Regions from separate parts of the Homo sapiens genome. Here region 2 is linked to region 1. The links are contacts of gene promoters, found by promoter capture Hi-C in human tissues and cell types (Jung and others, 2019). All regions are on one chromosome and are shown on one strand. Each heading gives the region's core, a stretch centred on a gene start or on the middle of the fragment in contact. The rest is flanking DNA. Distances are from core to core; before and after follow the strand shown.

What was found. The method cuts DNA at HindIII sites, captures the fragments that hold promoters and counts their contacts. A contact is called where the count stands out against the background at its distance.
Region 2: a fragment that was not itself captured here is called in contact with the fragment with the promoter of TGFA in region 1 in 1 of the 25 tissues and cell types used here (hippocampus).

What each region holds. Positions count from the first base shown.
Region 1 is chr2:70,551,633-70,557,681 of GRCh38, forward strand. It overlaps TGFA (transforming growth factor alpha), which reads right to left and starts at 2,194. Exons shown (of 6, transcript NM_003236.4): 1 at 2,096-2,194. The coding sequence starts at 2,135. It overlaps LOC124907824 (a long non-coding RNA gene), which reads left to right and starts at 1,076. Exons shown (of 2, transcript XR_007086906.1): 1 at 1,076-1,760. RefSeq lists a silencer at 2,255-2,324. The HindIII fragment of the contact is 16,400 bases long and covers 1-6,049 here.
Region 2 is chr2:70,592,214-70,598,262 of GRCh38, forward strand. No RefSeq gene overlaps it. Among named protein-coding and RNA genes, the nearest start is that of TGFA, 41 kb to the left of the region's middle. RefSeq lists enhancers at 4,013-5,212, 4,164-4,665, 4,666-5,165. The HindIII fragment of the contact is 6,641 bases long and covers 1-5,867 here.

The DNA.
Region 1 (6,049 bases), core at 944-3,443:
ACTCACAGCTGTGATTTTTCTTTTAAAGACATATAAATAAAAAGGAGTCCTCACTGGTGTAAATTACTCCTGCCTTTTTTTTTTCTCCACTTTTTTCAACTGCTCACATTTTGGAACTGTGTGAGCAAGTTTTTACATATTGATCAATCTTTTAAAGTTTATACATCATTTTCTTAAAGAAGGAAACAAAGATCAAGCTGAAAAGAACATTCAGGCAAAAGAGAAAAATTACATGATGAATGAATGCAGTCTTTGTGGGCGAGAATTCTGGGATGGGAGTGTGGGGTGTAGGGACAGCTTTCAAACACTTACTCAAATGTGCTTATCTTCATCATTTCCTGCCTCTAATTTTTACCGAATAACCACCTTGAGATCCCAGGAATTCAATAGGAAACTCAATTTAACAACAAGTTCCAGGGTATTCCACATAATCTCTCTTTAAGGCAAAGTCCCAAAAGAGAGATGGGACTATAATGACCACAAGTTAGGTGACTTTTCATATTCACATTCCTTCCACGTTCTTCGACAATCCTGGTCCAGTTACTTACTGTGGACCCTGTGTGCTTTACTTTCCTCTGCTATATAATGAGAATAATATTAACACCTTCTTTATCCGGTTGGTGTGAAAACTGCATGAATAAATGTAAAGCACTTGGACTGTGTCTGACACAGAGTAAAATGCTCGAATAGCATCAGCTGTTATTACTACTACTACTTACTACTATTATTTGCAAAAACATTACAAGGGATAATTATATCCAGGAAGCTTCCCTTGTATTGGTAATGTTTTATTGCTTTTTCTAAAATTTAAATCAGAGCAACAGTCAATACATGCACACAAAAAAGGCAATTCTTCAAAAATGTGGGGGAAAAGCCTCCCATACCCATGTTACCTGCTGGTGAGTTTCAGGTAAGGGTGTAGCTGGGAGCATCCGGTTCCAAGACTGCCTTGTATTTCTCTTACAGGATGCCTCCCCTTCTGCTGCGGTTTTTAATCAGCGTTTCTAGGGCAGGCTTGCAGGCGGGGCCGCGAACCCCCTGTAGTTGTACACGGAGCTGGGTGAGGCTGCGGCTCTGGGCATTTCTGGGGAGGAGTTCCATGGCTTTCCACAGACTCTAACCACCCTGCAGCGAGCCGCATGCTATACGGGTTAAACTCGGGGCATATCGAACGAACAATTCACTTCACGGAAGACTAGCAATAACCAGGACACCTGCGCTATTGATCAGCTATCTCAACACCAGAGAGACCCACCAGCACAAGGGGCAAGAATTGGCCAGGAGGCGCGCGGCGCTGCGCCCTCACCGCGTCCAGACAGACCCTTGAACTTCACCGCCAAAAAACGCACCGCTCCGCAGACCCGACCCGGGAGAGGGGTTTAACTTCCCCTCACCTTTCCCATCCCTCCTTCATTTCCAAGGACATACTCAAAGGAAACTGGCAACACTCGGTCTAGGGTTTCGCTCCTGCCCTCGGCGGACACCGAAACCACTTCTCCCAGGGAAGTTAATTAAAGGAACCATTAATCCGCCCAAAAATCCAAAACCTACCCCCAAAGCTCAAGAGCTCTGAAAAGAGATCGAGGGCGCCTCTGCCGATCTTGAACATCTCTGCTCGTCGCTGGGGCTTAGAGGTGGGCAGGGGGTGCCAAAGGGGCGCAGGCAAGACCCGGCCAGAGGGTTAGACGCCGGCCCCCGTTCCGAGGCGGCCCAGTCTACACGCCAGCGACGCCGGCTGAGCCGGGCTTGGAGGCAGCCAGGTAAGCAGGTAGGTGTAGGCATGTGTCTGAGCAGACACACAGCTGCGGCGGATTAAAGTTCAAGCCCGTTCACACTCCGCTTCCCCTTCCCAGGTGTTCTCACGCACGGCCCAGGCAGCCACTTTCCCGGGGAAGCCTCGGCGCTCGACCGGACAGTCCCCTCTTTGTCATTCTTAATGACTCCCCTTGCCTCCCAGGCGCCAACCCATTGAGACTACTCGCTTCTCTCCACTCTCCCAGGCGGGCGCAGAAACCCCCGGAAAGGGGAACTCGGCGGGGACCGGGGGAAGCAGGGTGTCGCGCGGCGCAGGGGGCGCCGCAGCCGGCGTACGTACCCAGAGCGAACAGGGCGAGCTGTCCAGCCGAGGGGACCATTTTACGGGCGGGCGGGCAGCAGGCTCTCCAGCCTCCTGCCCTACCTGCGGTGCCCGAGTGGCGGAGCGGCGCCGCGGTGCGGGGGAAAAAGACGCAGACTAGGCAGGGCCTGCCCCCGGCGCGGGAGGGCGGAGGGAGGACCGAGCGCCTCTCTGCTGGCACTCGCCCCGCAGCGCTGCCCGCCGGGCGGAAATAGGAAGGCGGCTACCGTCACCTCCTCGCCACTCGGCGACCGGGGCACAGCTGACCCCCCCCTCCCGCCCCGATGGGGGTGCCCCCCTGAGGGCACAGAGGGTGGGGGTTTGGGGTAAGGGGCGGGGACGCTGAGCGCACCGAGCAGGGCGCGGGCTGCTGGGCGGGGCGACCTGGGATCCCAGAGCCTGGCGGCGCGAGCCGGGCACCCGGGCCGACGAAAAGGCAGGAAGCGCCTGACTTCAGACACCACCCCCGACTGCCAGCGCCGTGCGGCAGCGGACTCCAGCGTGCGGGGTCGGCGCCGGCCGCGTAGCCGGATTGTCCTGGGCCGCAGTGGCGGCTTCCAGGCTCTAGGCGGCGGAGCGGAGCCGCCCGGGCACCCGTTACCTACACCGAGGGGCCGCTCCTGGGGCATCTCTGGGGCGGGGAAGGCTGGAGGCTGGGGACGCAGCCAGGAAAGGGACCTGTGAGTTTCGCCGGCCGCTTGCCAAGACTTGGCTCAAGGAAAGTGGTCCCCTGAATCAATGAAGAATTTGTTAAACCAGGTTTCCCACCTGTGCCACAGTTCCCATCAATTCTGGCAACGCCTGCCGCCTTACCTCCCAGGCAGGCCACATCGTTAAGATCAGTCTTCGTACTTCTGGCCTGGGACTGATAAAAAATGGGTCTCTGTGACGAATCTGGTTATATGGCACCACCAGCTGAGGCCAAAAGCCTGCTAGCCTGCCACCAAGTGTACCCCGAAAGAGGGGTGTGTGGGCCCGAGTCACCTGGGTGGTCCTTTCAGGATTTGTGGCTCTGAGGTGGCCCCTGGTGCTGGAATTTGGGGAGGTGGAGGGGATAGAGGGAAGACATTCTGGGCGAAGAGTGGAAGATCCATAGGTTCCTCGGTGACCCTCATGGGGACAGTACACCCGGGAGATTCATGTTCTCCAGGTACCCGGAGCTCACGGACTGACCCTCTTCTCCTGCCTCCTCTGGCCTACGTGCTCCGGGTAGATCCACTTTCCTTGAAGGTGGGGGTGGGGGCTGTTGGGCCTGGGGAATCTTTTGCTGTTTACTTGGGGAGGCTCAGGCTCTCACGGTTGACCTCTGCCCAGTTTGTTTCATGTAAGTAGAGCAACCTAGTTTCAAGAAGGAAGCACCAGGCCATTGGTCTCAACATTTGGGCAGGAAGCACCAGTGTAAATCATTCCTTTCAATAGATTTGTCGGAGCATACTTTGTTCTTTTAGGGTAAATCTTTTCCTTGGTCCACCCCATGCATGTACAAGGCACACATGCACTTCCTTTAGTAGGTTGTCCCTGACTCCCACTTCCTTCAGGTTGATCTTGACCTGCTCTGGTGGTTTCCCTGTCTCCTCCCTAAACTAGTCTGCTTTGGCTACAGAAGGGGAGGAATCAGGGGTTCCCCCACCCTTCTCCTGTTCCCCAGGACTAGAGAAGGACCTGACTCCTTGCTTCCTACTGGAACACGCAAATCAAGCTCACTGTGGCTGAGGGATGGCTGCCCAGCCGGCTGAGGGTCATGTTCAGCAGTTTCTGCTTATCTGTCCCCTACCCCCAAAGTCAGAGGTGGAGGGAAGTAGCAGAATCAAGTCAATTTCCTTCATGATTGGAAAATATTTTAAATCAAGAGGTAACTTGCAGGCCAGGCATGGTGGCTCACACCTGTAATACCATCACTTTGGGAGGCTGAGGTGGGTGGATTGCTTGAGCTCAGGAGTTCGAGACCAGCCTGGGCAACATGGTAAAACCCCCCATTTCTACTAAACATACAAAAAATTAGCCAGACATGGTGGCGTGCGTCTGTAGTCCCAGCTACTTGGGAGGCTGAGGCACGAGAATCACTTGAACCTGGGAGGCAGAGGTTGCAGTGAGCCAAGATTGTGCCACTGCACTCCAGCCTGGATGACAGAACAAGACTCTGTCTCAAAAAAAAAAAAAAAAGAAAAAAAGAGATGGCCGGGCGCGGTGGCTCACGCCTGTAATCCCAGCACTTTGGGAGGCCGAGGCGGGCGGATCACGAGGTCAGGAGATCGAGACCATCCCGGCTAAAACGGTGAAACCCCGTCTCTACTAAAAATACAAAAAAAATTAGCCGGGCGTAGTGGCGGGCGCCTGTAGTCCCAGCTACTTGGGAGGCTGAGGCAGGAGAATGGCGTGAACCCGGGAGGCGGAGCTTGCAGTGAGCCGAGATCCCGCCACTGCACTCCAGCCTGGGCGACAGAGCGAGACTCCGTCTCAAAAAAAAAAAAAAAAAAAAAAAAAGAAAAAAAGAGATAACTTGCCATCTTACAAACTAAAGAGTATCCAAATCAAAGTACATTCTAATGCTTGAAAATCATTAATTCTCCCTCCAAGATTTTCAAAAGCTGGTCCATATCTGTGGTTTTATAACCCTCCAATTCATTCAAGTCAAACAGGTCATCAGGGGCTGGGTGTTTTTTTTTTTTTTTTTAACTTAAAGATCATTTTTTTGGTAAACTGAATTGAAATGATTTTTAAACGTTTAGTCATAGAGGAAACCTAATATCCTAAATTGTTGATGCTCTATCTTTTGTATTTTATATATCTCATTTAATCCTCACAATAATCTTATGAGATAGATCCCATCCCCTTTTATAAGAGAAGAATCAAGACTGAGTGAATTTAGTAACTTACCCAGAATTACACAGCCAATAAAGGGCAGAGCTTGATTTTGAAAGCAGAACAAGCTGGTTCTGAGGCTTATGTGCTGGCTTCTCTGCTATACTGCCTCGGTTTCCACATTTTCAATAAGGATAATGCTTAACTCATTGGGTTGATGTGAGTACTAAATGCAAGAATTTATTTGCATACTTAGCATAATATTTGACATCAACAAAACTACCTATTATTTAAAGGAAAACTCCCTCAGTGGACACACCTTTCCCTTGTCTTAGTTCCTTACCACTATCTTTATGTTATCATTTTCATATCAGCTTCTTTGCTTGAGCATATGCATGTACATGCACGTGCATACCTCTTCCTATGGGAAATATTTTCATAGGTGAATCAGGAGGTATGAAGTTGTTTCTCAGCTGTGGTGTGAAAGAAATAAGAAAAAAATTGACAGAACGCGATTTAGAGCAAAGCAATCATTTTTCCTAAAGGGTGGTGTGACATTTTGTATTGGAACACCTCACTCTCTGAGCCGAGTGAAATTCCAACTGTAGCCCCTTGAAGCTGTGTGGAGACTCAGGTATGCGCCTTCACCTACAGACACTGCATCTGTCTCGCGTGGCCACTGCAGCTCCTGTTTCTCTGCACGTGGAGCCTGATGATTATGTGGCCTTCCCACTAAGAGTCTGCCTGGACTGCCTTTGCACACACTTGCTGCAGCTGGCCTTGAGCTCAGTATAATCTCTTCTGTGAGAAGCCAATCACAGCCTCTCCTCCCTGTGCAAACAAGAGAACTATGTTATGCTCTACTGAGAGCCGGTAAACCGCCCTGTCAGTTTTCCCTTTCCTTTCTCCTACATGCTTATTATAGAGGGTATGTTTAAAGAGCCCTCTTCTTCACTGTGATCAGCCTCCCCTTCCTTCCTGATTCATTTGTGGAAGTGATTGTGGAGCTATGAGCACCAGAGCCTTCCCTGAATAATTCAGGCCAGCTGAGCTTGCTGTTTTAGATCAGCAGTTACCCAAGATACTGGGGATTGAACAGCCCAGACATTCTTTGGGAGGAAGCACAGCCAT
Region 2 (6,049 bases), core at 1,297-3,796, 41 kb after region 1:
AATTATTTGTGTTATGATTATGGTCAAAGAGAGTTTACATTTTTAAGAATTTATTGACATTTCTTTATGGCCTAATATGTTACCTCAGTTTACAAACTGGCCATTTAAAAGCAATATTAATTAGGTACTTGTGAACTATAAATGTTGAAAAGCTTATTGATTATTTAATTCCTTTATGTGTCAATTTAATGCATCATGGTCCATGATGATAAGAAATGATAAATGTTATCACTAAGATTATAGTCTTATCCATTTCTGCTTGAGTTTTAAGATCTAATTTTTAATATTTAGCTGCTATCTTATTCAGGACATAAACACTGATGAGCTTATCTCCTTTGTGAATTGCATCTTGTATTGATATAATATTCCATATGTTTTTTTCTTGAATTCTTTGTTCACTATTAACATTGTCATTCCTACTTCAGTTGTTGCTTTGTCTTATTTTCATTTATGTCCTATATTTTTGTACATCCTTTTAAAGAGGAGCTTTGTGGGTCACTTTATTTTAGGCCTGCCATTTGTAAACACTGTATATGACTCAGATTTCTGTGGAGGAAACAGAAAACCCCTTATGTGTTTTAAGTGAAAAGGGATTTAATATAAGGAATTAGGTGCTTACAGAAGCATTAGGCTAGGCTGAAGGAATGAAGAGGTTGGCAGCCCCCACTGGACTCACAGCACCACATCTGCTGCCGTGGGTCGAGAAGTTACTGCTGCTGCTGCCAGCACAACTGCCTCTTAGCCCATGAAGCTGGTGACCAGGCACTGGAACACAGGTCTGGCTGCTACCAATAGTCTTGTTTGTCCAAACCTGTTTCCTGTCAACCAGCAGCAGCAAGGTGGCCTCCACTTCACCTCCACCTGCTAAATCTCCCTTGAATGCATCTTATTGGCCCAACCTAATTTGCACCTAGCACCGTCATTTGGAAGGCCTTTGAAAAAGGTAATTTTTAGTTTTACAACCCCTCCAAGTAGGAGGATGGAATGGAAAAGCCATTCCATCTTAGGAAAGCCAATCCAAGAATCTACCATATAGTTTTGAAGTTTGCCTTTTGAATTCTGAGAACCCTTCTGTTTCAAATGGAGAGAGTAGCCCAGTCACATTTATTAGAAATGATATTGATCTAACTTCTTTATTCTTATGTTTATGTGCATTTCTACTTTTCTTTTTAATCTTTTGTCATACTGATTTTTTAAAGTAATTTGCAAGTTTTGTATTCTATTTTATTCTACAATTATTTTTAGTTGAAGTATACATAAATAAATATATATTTAGATTATGTATATCTTTAGGTTAAGTATATACTTCCATACCTTTTTCAGGGTCAAGCATGAATCAGTATCTGTCAACCCATGTACCGGATATCCTAGTCAGGGGGCTCTTGCTGGCAAAAAAGAGAAGCCTTCCGCCAATCTGAATAGAAGATGATTTCAGTGAAAGGATACTTGGTGGATCATAGAGTTGGTGGGAGGCCTGGAGAGCCAGGCTGGGGGAGTGGGCAGGTGGAGCAGGCTGTTTAGAGTCCTGCTGCTGCCAGTCCCACAGCCCCAGGGCACAGGCCTCTTCTCCTCACCTCCCTTCCTCTAGGTTCAGACCCTGGGCAGGGCTTCCTAGTAGCTGAATTTAGGCCATCCACCTGGGCTCTAGTTGTTTTTTTTTTTTTTTTTTTTTTTTGAGATGGAGTCTCGCTCTGTCACCCAGGCTGGAGTGCAGTGGCACGATCTTGGCTCACTGCAACCTCCGCCTCCGAGGTTCAAGCGATTCTTCTGCCTCAGCCTCCTGAGTAACTGGGATTACAGGCATGTGCCACCATGCCCAGCTAGTTTTGTATTTTTAGTACAGACGGGGTTTCTCCATGTCGGTCAGGCTGGTCTCGAACTCCTGACCTCGTGATCTGCCCGCCTCAGCCTCCCAAAGTGCTGGGATTAAAAGGCTGGCCCCACATTCCACCAAGACTCGCACAGTGGCTGATTCCTTGAACCTAGGAAGGTGTCAGGTGCTGTACCCCAAACATTGAAGTGTCCGCGGTACATATCCCCTCATTGTAAAAGATGAGAAATTTAGTCTGTTTTCCCTTCTTCTTTTTAGTTTGATCAACAAGCACTTATTGACTGCTTTGTAAGAATCAGAAATTGTCATAGGCACAAATTATGTAAATCAAAAGGCCAATTCCTGTCTGCAAGGAATGCATAGTTTGGTACGGGAGAGAACTAGATACTTAAAGGTGCTGTTTTACTGTGATGGGACACATACTAGGAGCATGTATGTTCACAGGGTGGGATTGGAGCAGAGGAAAGAGATGCTTAGCTCTGTCTGAGTGGGAGAGGATGAGTCTGATATGATCTCAAAAGAGGATCATTTTCCAGGTGTTCAGGGTAGGGGAGAAAGGCACAAGCACTCGGATATGTGGAACAACATGGTGCACAGAAAATATATGCACTTTGCTGTCACCAGGACAAGTGTCACCTGTGTAGGCAGGACCAGAGGAGCTGGGGCTGGAGAGTTAGATGGGGCCACCTCACATTAGAGGTGACCGACGGAAGAGGACCCAGCAGAACATGGCCATCCCTACCCCAGCCACATTGGAGCCTGCTGATTCTCTCTCTCTGAAATTTGCTGAGTCTTTGGATCCACAGAGCTTCTAACCCTGCTGGAGCCTGGAGAAGAGGAGAGGGGGGAGCAGAGAGACAGTAGAGATGAGAGAAGGGTGCTGAAAGATGTACCCCGCTTCTGGCTCAGTGAAGACATGACATTTTCCCACAGTTCAGTAGGCACCAGAGAAGGTGGCAAGGCTTGAGTGGCCTTTAGGTTAAGGGGCCCCTGAGGCATTTTCTGAAGGGAGGACCACCTGTGTCAGGAAACTTGCACAGGGGGAGGCCTCACTGGGTCAAGAGAGGACAGCATTTGGATGGCTGACCTTCAGGGGCCACTGAGGACCCACTGGTATTAGCCAGAGAAGTAGCAATACCAAACAGAGTGACCACAAGAGGGACCTTTTGAAAAGAAAGAAGGAAACAATAGTTGCTGGAGAGGATGTGGAGAAACAGGAATGCTTTTACACTGTTGGTGGGAGTGTAAATTAGTTCAACCATTGCGGAAGACAGTGTGGTGATTCCTCAAGGATCTAGAACCAGAAATACCATTTAACCCAGCAATCCCATTACTGGGTATATACCCAAAGGATTAGAAATCATTTTACTATAAAGACACATGCACACATATGTTTATTGTAGCACTATTTACAATAGCAAAGACTTGGAACCAACCCGAATGCCCATCAATGATAGACTGGATAAAGAAAATGTGTCTCATATACACCATGGAATACTATGCAACCATAAAAAAGAATGAGTTCATGTCCTTTGCAGGGACATGGATGAAGCTGGAAACCATCATCCTCAGCAAACTAACATAGGAACAGAAAACCAAACAGCGTATGGTCTAACTCATAAGTGAGAGTTGAACAATGAGAACACATGGACACAGGGAGGGGAACATCACAAACCGGGGCCTGTTCGGGGGTGGTGGGCAAGGGGAGAACATTAGGACAAATACCAAATGCATGCAGGGCTTAAAACTTAAATGACAGGTTAATAGGTGCAGCAAACCACCATGGCACATGTATACCTATGTAACAAACCTGCACGTTCTGCACATGTATCCAGAACTTAAAGTTAAAAAAAAATAAGATCTGGGGATCTAATGTGCAGCATGGTGACAACAGTTAATAATGTTGTATTATATACTTGGAATTAGCTAAGAGAGAGTTTATCTTAAGAGTTCTCACCAAAAAAAACAAAAATTAAAAAGGGAAACTATGTGATTTGAGGGATGGATATGTTAATTAACTTGATTGTGGTAATTATTTTACAATACATACCTATATCAAATCTTCATGTTGTACACTTTAAATATATACTTTAAATATGGGAAAAAAAAGAAAAGAAAGAAAACCCTTCATGTCTATGCCTCCAATGGGCTGAGTCTTCTCAATAGCCTTGGCATTTGTTGGTGGCTAATTGAGGATGCCAAGGAGGGATTTCACTACAGGGCTTGGAACACAGCAGTACTTCCTTAAAATTATCCTTAGAATCTCTTTCTCCTTCCAGCCGCTGCTCAAATCCTACCCTCTTCCACCACCTCTTAAATCTTTTTCCTGCCTGCATTTTCTTACATAAAGCAATCTACTACTGCCATCGGTTCATTCACTCACCGGAACCTGTCTTGCCAGGACCTGACCTCAGCAGACTGAGTCATACCAGCATCATCCTTGTTGGGGCCCAGGTCTGCATCCCGCTTCCGGCCCCAGCCCCACTGTTAGCTCCATCAGGTCCTCTGGGGCACACCAAGGAGGCCGTTTTCTCTCCCTTTTTCTGAATTAGATCCCCAGAAACAAGACATCAGGCTTCCTGGGGAAATCTAATTTTGCTCATGAATTTGACCATTCATTGTTGCTCAGTTACCTGTGCCCAGCTCTTTCTGCCTTTTCAAACTGCACTCAGCTGTGCCCTTGAATGAACTGGGGCAGAAGTCCTTAGGTCCTGATCACACATGCTGTTCCCAACTTCCCTTCCCCTTGACACGCTGTGGTGAACTCTGAATTCCAGCACGTCTCCACTCTGCTGTAGAGCCTTTCTAGGGCTGGCAAGCATTCTGCCACAGAGCTGGTCTTTGTGGCTTTATGCCCACAGTAATTACTAGGGCTGGGCCATGCAACCGTCTAACCTCTTCAATTTACAGCCTCCAGGATCTGCCACCCCTGTGGCATTTGGAGGGTGTCTAACCACAGACCGGACGTGCGTGGTAGCAGGTGGTCTGCTTGATTGCTGGTCCTTCAGTGACCCCTCTGCTCTCCAGTGGCCAGACAGGGATTCAGAACATGCCCAGGCATGTCTGCTACTGACGTCCTCATCCATGAAATTCCCAATATCTGCAGAAATTGTGTATTTGTACATGTTGATTCTATAATAAATACTGAATCCCAGCCTGTACTGCAGAAAGGCTTCCTTAGCCTCTCAGTCTGGCTTACGTAAAGCAGCGTAAGTGTGATTCTCCATTTCACACACCGGGGCCCTTAACATTCCATGCCCTCATGGCTCTAATTCTGATTTTGGAACAGACCCCACCATTTCCCTCTTTTTGAAGGTGACTTTGCAAGGATCACATAACTCCTGTTGGGCCAACTTCCTTTCCCTTGTACTATGAGCATAACAACTAGATGGTCAACCCGAAAGCTCATTCTTGTCACAGTTCTGGGGGGATCAGTTACCTGAAGCATACTCAGGTTGAAACCCCAGACAAACCTTACCAAATATGATGTGAACATTCCAGTCTGCCCTGTAGACCCTCACTATGGTATCACATCCCAATAAACACAAGCCCACCTCAAAAGAAAAAAGAAAGATTGATAAGTAATGCAGGTCTTTACTTCTTGTAAACCCAGAAGAGAGGATTACATAGCACGTCAGACAAAAATATCTCTTAAAATCCTTTCTAAGCAATTCTTGTTATGCCCGAACTTTGATTTCTCATCAGTTTCTTATGGTGAGTGCCCTATACCTAAATCCCTCCAGTATTTCCTCCATTTCTTTGCCTCTCTGTTCCTTTCTTTCTTTCTCTCTTTTTCCCTCTCTCCTTCTGTCCTGTTATTACATTTCCTTAGTGTTTCATTGCATCTGCTTCTCTGGTCAGCAAAACAAAACCATCTCCTTTGAGGCCCACCCTTCTTAAAAGGACCAGAGGGATAAATTTTTTTTTCTGCAGTTATTTTTTAATTAAACTTTTTATTTTGAGATAAATGTAGGCTCACATGCAGTTTTAAGAAATAATACAGATTAATCCCTTGTGTGTTTCCCCAATGGTAACATGTTGCCAAACCATAGCATAATTTGATATTGTCATCGATACAGTCAAGTACAGACCATTTCTATCCCATAAAGATCCCTCATGTTGTCATTTTATGGGCACATTTACTTCCCTCTCTGTCACCCTTCCTTAGCCCTTGGCAATCACTAATCTGTTCTCCATTTTGGTAATTGTGTCATTTCA